Regions from separate parts of the Homo sapiens genome. Here all the other regions are linked to region 1. Evidence: promoter capture Hi-C in 16 types of primary human blood cells and fetal thymus (Javierre and others, 2016). All regions are on one chromosome and are shown on one strand. The core of a region is centred on a gene start or on the middle of the fragment in contact, and the rest is flanking DNA. Distances in the headings are between cores, read along the strand shown.

Region 1 (3,201 bases), core at 262-2,761:
TGTATATCTCAGCTTTTAAAACATCTGAATTTGCTATATATGCTCTCATTGTGCTGTATACCTATTATCACTCTTACACAGATTTCTAGCAATTAATTTGAAATAGAAAAACAGCCATGATACCTTTTCTAACCCCCCTTTATCAGAAGAACATTTAGAAGGCTTTTAAAGCCCAAACCATTATATTATCTTTTGGCGACCGACTAGGAGAACTTGGGTTCTCTATGCTTTAGCACTGTGAAAGTGCATCTTCCAGATCAGCACATTTATAATGCGAATTGCTGATAAAGAACCATTTTGTACCTGCAAGGTATTAATCAAAAGTCATGAATTCGCCTTTTAACTGGGCTTGTCATTTAAACAATCTATGCATAATTCTGATTTCATGCGAAACTTTTCTAATTAGACATTTTTTGCTTAAACATCAATATTGGGCTTTACGGATGCATAAGGAATAGGCAGACAGTGGAAGATTTTAGTTTAAAAGTGCTCAGCATCCAGCTAATTAATCTATGCAGATAGGCCTAATCCATTTTCCATTTGTTTGTGAGGTGGGAGCTCTCATCTTTCTGCCACTTTTAAATGACCTCACATTTCCAAGTATAAATTTGGAGAAAAGACCCGGATCAGAGGAATCCTCCATCAAAACTGGACGCCACTGTCTGATGGCGTTAATTATGTTTTAGCGACTGACTAGGAGGGCTAGAGTTCCTTCTTCCTTTTGGTGTAATACAACTGCATTTTCCGGATCATCGTATTATATTGCTAATTCCGGATAAACCACCATTTGTCCTGCACACCGAGCTGAGGGGCGCCTTGGCGTTCCCTCTCCGAGTGCAGCCCTAACACAGGCTTTTGACCTTCAGCCTGGAATACACTTTCGTTTGTCATTGGGGCCCACGTAGTGCGAAAATGGGCGGCAGATTTGGTAGGACTTCCAGCGGGTGAACTTTGGGAAGAGTCCAGGACGTGAATTTAATGGGTGGAGTGGCTGCGGCAGCACTGTGAAGTTAGCGCGGCCAACTGCAGGAAGCCATGCTTCATTACACCCTTCATGGAAGCTGGCACACTCGCCCCACCCTCGTTTTCCACGGGCCAGTCTTGGAGGAAAAGGCCAGCAGGTAGGTTCCCAGGGCACGGAGATGATGCCCCCGGGGACTCCCCTCTGGCGATTCTGAGAAAACCCCTTCCCAGCCCTGGGCGTCCACCTCCCCCGCCACCTCCCAGGCCTCTTCCCGACGCTCACACGCGGCCCGCGCCACCAGCGCTGCAGAGGGCGGCCCTAACGTCCCCGCCCCCGCGTGCGCGCCCCCGCGCCCGTTCATTCCGGCCTCCGCGCGCCGCCGGCTCCCCTCGCGCCCACCCCCAGCACACCTCGGCGGCGGCGAGCGGCGCGGGGGAGGGGGACGGGGCCCCGGAGGTAGGCCGGGGGCAGCCAACAGGCCGCGGCAGCGCGCACGCAGGGCTAGCCTCGCCCAGGCCTCCTCCCTCACGCCGGCCGCAGGACGGGCGCGCACGCCAAGTGACGCTCCGAGGAGGAAGCGCAGCCCCCTTCCCCTCCCTCGCTGCCCCTGGCCCAGCGGGAGCCCCCCCTCCCCCCAGTGCGCCTGTGCGGAGGCCCTCTTGATTATGTGTGCCCTCTCCGGGCGCCCGCGTTAGCGGCCGGGTGGAGGTGGGGAGGGAAGACGCTGAGGAGGAGGAGGAGGCGGAGGAGGCGGTGGAGGGGAGGTGGGGGGAATCAGCAAGGACATGGCTCCTGACTCCTGTGCGGAACGTGAGTGACTGAGCGGCAAAGCCCGAGTGAGCGAGCGGTGGGCTGCCGGGCCGGGCGGGGGGCGCCGGGGCGGGCTCGGGGGGCTGTGTGGGGGGGAAGCACTAATCGGCTTGCATGTGTTTTTTAATGGTCCCCCCAACTCCCTCTTAGATGGTCTCTAGCGACCGGCCCGTGTCACTGGAGGACGAGGTCTCCCATAGTATGAAGGAGATGATTGGAGGCTGTTGCGTTTGCTCAGACGAGAGAGGCTGGGCCGAGAACCCGCTGGTTTATTGCGACGGGCACGGCTGCAGCGTCGCGGTGCATCAAGGTAAACACCCAACCGCCCGCCGGGGCGCGCCGGCCTGCGCCCAACGGTCACCGCCGCCCCCACCTGGGCCGCAACCGCCGGCGCCCCCGCCCCGTGCCGCGGCCGCGGGAGGGACGCGGAGGGTCCGCGGCGGGGCGCGGGGGGTGTGGGCCGCGCATGTGGGAGAAAGTGCGTGTGGCCCGGACTGTCATGTGATTCCGCTCTCACTCTCTCAAGTGTCATTCGGCCGCCGCCTGCGCCTGGGGCCGGGGTCTGCTGACTCGGCGGGGCGGGGCGGGGCAGGGCGGCGGCCGCGCCCTCGAGATCTGGGCCGGGGTGGGGGCGGGGGCGGGGGCGGGGGCGGTGCGCGCCCTTCCCGGGGTTCCCGGGGCCACGGGGGTGGGTTTGGGAGAGTGGAGCGCCCTCTTCTCCCCTGGCCTGCAGCCGCCTGTCTGCCGCAGTGTTTGGAGACTTCCTGTGGCGTGGAGACGGGCTCGGGAACGCGGCGCCAGTGTGGGGAGGCTGGGGGTCGCCTTGCCTCTTTAGATGGGGAGGGATGCGGGGCCCGTTGCACCCCGAGCCAGAAGGCTCGGGCCCTGCCGCCGCCGCCCGGTAGCTGTCTGCGGAGGAGATGGCGGAGTCCGTTGCTGACCATGCGGGAGTGGCGGGGCTGCTGCAGCGCCTGTGGGGTGGCCGCGGCAGGCCACCACCAGCCTAGGTGGCTGAAGAGGTGGCGGTGCCAAGTCACTTTTGGGGAGCCTCTTAGTTTATTTCTGGTTGTTAACAATTGATGAGGTTTTTGGATATACAAGAAGGCCGAGGACACTAGTAAGATACTTTTCTGGCCTTTGAAGTGGCCGACTTTTCCCCATTTCACGTGGTAAGGAATCCAGGACAAAACAGTCTATATTCTTTTTTGGTGGCTCCATGTCCCTTCGCATTTCTGAATCTGGCATTAAGCGATGCATATGTTTTTAGTAGTCTGTTGGAAAGGACTACCACCAAAAGGGAGACGAAAATTTGAACATCTGCTAAAGTGCATTTTGTAGAGAAACGAATGTCACACTTGGAAAGGGAGACTTTAGAAGCAGTGGTGATGATTCTGAGGTAGTGTACTTACTCTGAGAATGCTGTTTAT
Region 2 (3,201 bases), core at 522-3,021, 420 kb after region 1:
CAGATGCAGTTAAAAGCCTCCAACAGTTTATACATAACACACACACACACACACACACACACACACACACAAGTAGGTGTAAATTTTTCTTTTCAGACAATTCTTATTTCTAGATTTTTTTTTTTTTTTTTGAGACAGAGTTTTGCTCTGTCGCCCAGGCTACAGTGCAGCGATCTCGGCTCGCTGCAACCTCCGCCTCCCGGGTTCAAGTGATTCTCCTGCCTCAGCCCCCCAAGGAACTGGGATTACAGGTACCCGCCACCGCACCTGACTAATTTTTGTATTTTTAGTAGAGACAGGGTTTCACCATCTTGGCCAGGCTGGTCTTGAACTCCTGACCTCGTGATCCACCCGCCTCGGCCTCCCAAAGTGCTGGGATTACAGGTGTGAGCCACTGCGCCTGACCAGAATTCTTTGTAATAACTTTAACCATATGTATTTTGCCAATCCCTGATTATAGCACTGTTTCTTATTTCTGATTATTCAGAAACCCTTTAAAGAAAGCATGGAAGAATAAAGCCTCCTCTATTCACTTAACTTTATCATTAATACTTTCATTGTCATCTTAATTCTTTTCCTCTATTATCCTATTTGTTTTTACTGCTGTAAATAAATTGTACATATTATATTGTACCTTCCTTTTGTCAGTATATATAAAAGTTTCCATTTTACTTCATAAATTTAATAAAGTAATGTTTATGTTTATGGTCAAGTAATGTTATAGCTCCACTGAGTTAATTTAGTATAATCTACTTACCCATTCATATTTGATCTTTGCAATAGTTCTGTACTATATCAAATTGGCAACTAAACATTTTTCATGTGTTTACTTTCTTCTCTATCACCACGGCCATTATTTAGGCTTTACTCATCTTTTTTCCTTTTCAGTTATTTAGTCTCTTTATACTTTGCTTTCTGTCAATTACACAAGTAACACATGAATAAATAAATACATACATTCTTCTTCAAAGCCTCATTCTCTCAACAGAAGTAATTATCATCAGTTTGGTACATATACTTCTCAATATTTTTTTAAAAATGTGCTTACTTTCATATATGTGTACATGTAGAAATGTTCCACTTTCTTTAAGTGATGGTACATTAAGTGACGGCAAACTTAATGTACTATTATTAAGCAAAATACCTTTCTTATATTAAAACAGGCTCATAATACCTGCTTCTGTCCATTCACATATTTCTCTACTGGGCTTTACTGTAATATTCAGTTTCATATAAGATATGCTACCTAACACTGGTTTTACCAAGGATTTGGCTTTTTATTAGAAGCATATAATTGAGAATACCATTGTATTAAATATATACTATTTTAAAACAGAAACATATAAGTAGAAACCTGAAACTAAAACTATAATGGAGTTAAAAAGTTCAACCAAAATTTCTCCATATAATACTAATAAAATTTTAATCCAAATGATTGAGAAATGAAGGTTTTTTTCTTTCTTTCTGGTATTTATGTATTTTTAACAGCTTTATTTAAGTATAATTTACAAACCATAAGAGTCACCTGTTTTAAGTGTTTAGTGATTTTTAGTACATTTATATAGTTCTGCAACATCACGATAATCTAGTTTTAGAATATTTCCATCAACCCAAAAAGATTCCTTGTACCTGTCTCCACAGATTTGTCTTTTTTTTTTTTTTTGAGACGGAGTCTCGTTCTGTTGCCCAGGCTGGAGTGCAGTGGCGCGATCTCGGTCACTGCAACCTCCGCCTCCTGGGCTCAAGCGATTCTCCTTCCTCAGCCTTCTCAGTAGCTAGGACTACAGTGCGTGCCACCACGCCCAGCTAATTTTTCGTATTTTTAGTAGAGACGGGGTTTCACCGTGTTAGCCAGGACAGTCTCGATCTCCTCACCTCGTGATCCACCTGCCTCGGCCTCCCAAAGTGCTGGGATTACAGGAGTGAGCCACCGCGCCTGGCCCAGATTTGCCTTTTCTAGGCATTTCATATAAATGGAAGGGATGAGGTTTTTCTGATATATTTAAACGTCAGATTTGGCAGAAAAAAAAATCACTATTTTTTTTGCAGAAAAATTTTGCTGTTGAACTTCTTTCTAAAAGTTATTAACATGCTTTGTTCATTTGGTAAGAACATTTTGAATATAACAGAGCTCCTTCTCCTTCTTTACTTCCTACCCTTCCTTCTCTTCCTTTTACCAGTTTATGCTCTTTTAATATTTAACAATCTTTACTCTCAACAGCCCGGTTTCTCAGTACAGAATGCATGGAAGGTATGAGGAATTGGCCTTTCTAGTTCAACTCCACTAAATATCCTGATAGTTTAACAGGAAAACAAAACACCAAGAAATCCAACATACTGAACTTTTTTCTTTTTTTCTGAGATGGAGTCTCGCTCGGTTACCTAGGCTAGGATGCAGTGGTGAGACCTTGGCTTGCTGCAACCTCTGCCTTCCGGGTTCAAGCAATTCTCTTGCCTTAGCCTCCTGAGTAGCTGGGATTACAGGTGTCTGCCACCAGGCCCGGCTAATTTTTTTTGTATTTTTAATAGAGACGGGGTTTCACCATGTTGGCCAGGCTGGTTTTGAACTCCTGACCTCAAGTGATCTGCCTGCCTCAGCCTCCCAAAGTGCTAGGAGTACAGGTATGAGCTACTGCGCCCAGCCACACTGAACATATTATATCCTCGAGATGTTTTAGTTTCTCCTGAATGTGGAATACATTTTTAAAACACTGATGAGAAATCCGGCCAAGCACTGTGGCTCATGCCTGTGATCCCAGCACTTTGGGAAGCCATGCAGATCACCTGAGGTCAGGAGTTTGAGACCAGCCTGGCCAAAATGGTGAAACTCTGTCTCTACTGAAAATACAAAAATGAGCTGAGCTTGGTGGCAGGTGCCTGTAGTCCCAGCTACCCGGGAGGCCAAGGCAGGAGAATCACTTGGACCTGGGAGGCAGAGGTTGCAGTGAGCCGGGATAGTGCCGCTTCACTTCAGCCTAGGCGACAGAGGGAGACTCCATCTCAAAAAAAACAAAAACAAAAAAAAAAAAAAGAAGAGAGAAATCCATTTTATACAGATCTCCTAAAATCTGTAATGTTATCTCCAAATGTAACTCCATCTCCCAAAAATTTTGGTGTCACTTTTGACTCCTCTTTCTCTCACAGTCCACATTCAATTCATTAATAAGTCTTGTTGGGTCTACTATCAAAAGCATACTCAGA
Region 3 (3,201 bases), core at 202-2,701, 390 kb after region 1:
CCCTGTGCTTTGCAATCTGACAAGCAGAGGTATTCAAATTAAACGGTTAAGATGAGAATCAAGAATGGTAGCTAACATTTTAGGATACAGACTAATTCCAGATAATACATTTGAGGAAAGATTCAGAATGTAACATAGCACAATTTATAGGGTTGTCTGGAGATGTATTACCCCCCTAGTGAAGGACACAGATATTTAGGCTGGCTTTTGCCTAAATGTCAAATAGCCAGGTGTTGTTTTGTTTTGTTTTTTACAGGTACTCTTGTATCGTAGAACATTTTCAAATTTTGGATTGTGGTCCACTAGTGTCTCATGAAATGAATTTAGTGAACCACAACCAACATTTTTAAAAAATAAATAAATAAAAAACACCAAAAGACTAGTCTAGCCTAGAATAGAAAATAATGTGTTTAACATGCAATAAGAAATATCTTGTGAAACTATTGTTTTAGTTATGTGTGTGTGTGTGCGTATGTGTTGTGGTCTGACTTAAAAAACTTAGAAGGCTGCTGAAATGATGTCTACATTCCATACATTCTGTAGGAGTAGAGGAAAGGGGCCTCTGTGTAATCTCCTCTTAAGTCACTGGCATTATAAACTACTACATAAATATATTGCCAGTCTTCTGAAAGGGGCACAGAGAAGTCTTAGAGTGAGGGGCTACCTCCACTCTGAAGTTTAACCCTGAATGCAGAATTGCCGGAGCAGAGTAAAGGAAGGGAAGGAGGCAAAAGAAATAGATGCAAGAGGCAAAGTTTTCTTTCTTCTACAGGCTTACAGAAGCTTATATAACTGGGTTATTCTGAGAGTGAGGAAATATCAAGAAAGAGTACTAACTTGACTATCACTACAGTCTAATTCAAACATTTAAGGAATGGGGGGGAAAAGCACCAAGCATCAGGCACAGATAGGAGCTATTACTGACATATGGGAAGGAATGGACATTTATTTGAATTCAGGCAGTATTTGTATCTCCCAGGGCATAAACACTCATGTTAAAAGTCGTATTAAGGAAGCCCGGACTTGCTAACATTATGACTCAAAATCCTGAAGCTTGTATGTATCAAATCAATCTAGTGAATACTTTCAATAAAATTAACTCTGCTTCAAACACACATTTTTAAAACACTGCATTTCTCGGAAGGAACAAAAATAAAATGCTAACATAATAATAAAATGTTTAAGAAGACTTAATTCTTTATAAACTGTAGCATGAAACTATAACATCTTAATTCAAAAGCAGAAATGAACACTCACCTCTGCCTTCGTTCATCATCCTTTAAAACTTCATAAATGGCCACCAACTAAAATAAAAGCATTACTTTAAAATAAAAATACTCTCAACTATAAGAAATCACATAGGAGGGTGAAGGCACTACAATACACATGCAGAAAATCCTATGTGCCTATATATACAATAAACAGATGAAATCTCCTTTATAAGTAACACTATGTTTTGGTAGTACCTTAAGAGATTAAAAATGCTTGATATCAAAATAAATCTTTGTGACAGTTACAAAAGTAATACTTATCTTAAAATGTGCATTTAGAAGCAAAAGCTGTAATTTAGACAAGAAAATTATGACAATTATGACCCTCCAAGAATTTAGAGATGCTAATACAAAATAGTAAAAATGCATTTTGTAGAAACTTGAAAAAAAATATACACTATATTTTAAACTACTACCTCATTTTCAAATGAAAATATTCCATATATAAGTGAATATTTCTACCATCGACATGTTAATACATTTGTCACAAAATATATATATAATAGCATATTTCACTTACTTGTCTAAACTGAGTTTCTGCATTTTCATCTTTATTCTTGTCTGGATGTAAAGTTAGTGAAAGCTTACGATATGCTTTTCTGATGTCTGCAGATGATGCATCCTGGAGGTGGTAGGGGGAGGGGAAAATACAAAGCAAACTTTGTCAGAAAAAGAAATTCCCAGAACCTTGTTAAGATCTGAGAAGACAGCCAACCAAGTGCAGGACCCCAGGCAATGTAATTTGAGCAATCAGTCTTAACAACCAGGCTATGCAACAAGCCTGACCCACATGACTGAACAATTATTCAATCTAATTTGGCTCTCCTCTTAACTTTTCATTACCATACAGTCATTTAAAGAAGACAGTATTTGGCGAAACTTTTCAAACACTTGCCTTCCTAAAATTAACCAATAAATCTTTTTCAGTAATTAAGAGATCAAAAAGAAACAAATTAAAAATTAATACATCGGTGTGCCTTCAAAGAAACTCTTTATTTACTGGCAAATGTTAAAGCCAATTTCTGAATCCCGGGCTAACCATATGGTTTCTCTATTATTTATATTGAGTTTATCATCTCAGCAACAACCTATGGAATCTCACTTTCACATGTCAAAAAGCATGCCTATCTGAAGGGAGTTAAATTAGCATTTATCAAAAATTATTATCATTAGAAAGAGTTAAATATACTATACTTATTTACTTAGTACTTTAAAGGGTATTTTCAATGTTGGCCAGCCTCCTCAGTCTGGTTCATACAAATAAATTTGCCCAATATTTATGTATTACTTGTATAGTTTAAATATATTTAAAAGGTTACCGTGGTTCAGTACTTAGATTAAGTGGATATTAAAATTACATTTTATATAATCCTGTGTGCACAGGTAAAATCAGACAACATCATTTTTACATGGCCAGTATAAAATGCATAATAATAACAAAGAATACACTGTCAAGTAGGGTTTAAAACTTTTTTTGAGACAGTCTGATTCTACCACCCAGGCTGGAGTGCGGCGGCACAATCTCAGCTCACTGCAACCTCCACCTCCTGGGTCCAAGAGATTCTTGTGCCTCAGCCTCCAGAGGAGCTGGAATTATAGGCATGCGCCACCACACCCAGCTAATTTTTGTATTTTTAGTAGAAATGGGGTTTCCCCAGGTTGGCCAGGCTGGTCTCGAACTCCTGACCTCAAGTGATCCAACAGCCTCGGCCTCCCAAAGTGTAGGATTACAGGTGTGAGCCACCGCGCCTGGCTGGGGTTTAAAACTTGATCTGTATTAAACTTAAAGTGTATTAAAATAACATATTAATATTGGGCAAAATGATAGTAAACTTGCTTACTAAATGTCTCTCATTTGATAGCTGACTGTCTAATTAATTCCAAAAACTATTAAGAAGTTCAAATGATGAAAACACCAAACCAAACCAAC

The links. The method cuts DNA at HindIII sites, captures the fragments that hold promoters and counts their contacts. A CHiCAGO score of 5 or more calls a contact.
Region 2: a fragment that was not itself captured here is called in contact with the fragment with the promoter of MLLT10 in region 1 in 7 of 17 cell types (non-activated CD4 T cells, naive CD4 T cells, erythroblasts and 4 more); the score reaches 8.0 in non-activated CD4 T cells.
Region 3: a contact is called between a fragment that was not itself captured here and the fragment with the promoter of MLLT10 in region 1, in 1 of 17 cell types (endothelial precursors). The highest score is 6.7, in endothelial precursors.

What each region holds. Positions count from the first base shown.
Region 1 is chr10:21,532,721-21,535,921 of GRCh38, forward strand. It overlaps MLLT10 (MLLT10 histone lysine methyltransferase DOT1L cofactor), which reads left to right and starts at 1,512. Exons shown (of 23, transcript NM_001195626.3): 1 at 1,512-1,800; 2 at 1,925-2,084. The coding sequence starts at 1,925. RefSeq lists enhancers at 1,081-1,794, 2,510-3,201 and silencers at 1,160-1,689, 1,700-1,769, 1,880-2,219, 2,360-2,449. The HindIII fragment of the contact is 10,036 bases long and covers 1-3,201 here.
Region 2 is chr10:21,956,784-21,959,984 of GRCh38, forward strand. All of the region lies in intron 1 of DNAJC1 (DnaJ heat shock protein family (Hsp40) member C1), which reads right to left. Among named protein-coding and RNA genes, the nearest start is that of DNAJC1, 45 kb to the right of the region's middle. The HindIII fragment of the contact is 7,617 bases long and covers 1-3,201 here.
Region 3 is chr10:21,927,249-21,930,449 of GRCh38, forward strand. It overlaps DNAJC1 (DnaJ heat shock protein family (Hsp40) member C1), which reads right to left. Exons shown (of 12, transcript NM_022365.4): 2 at 1,792-1,893; 3 at 1,258-1,304. Among named protein-coding and RNA genes, the nearest start is that of DNAJC1, 75 kb to the right of the region's middle. The HindIII fragment of the contact is 801 bases long and covers 1,052-1,852 here.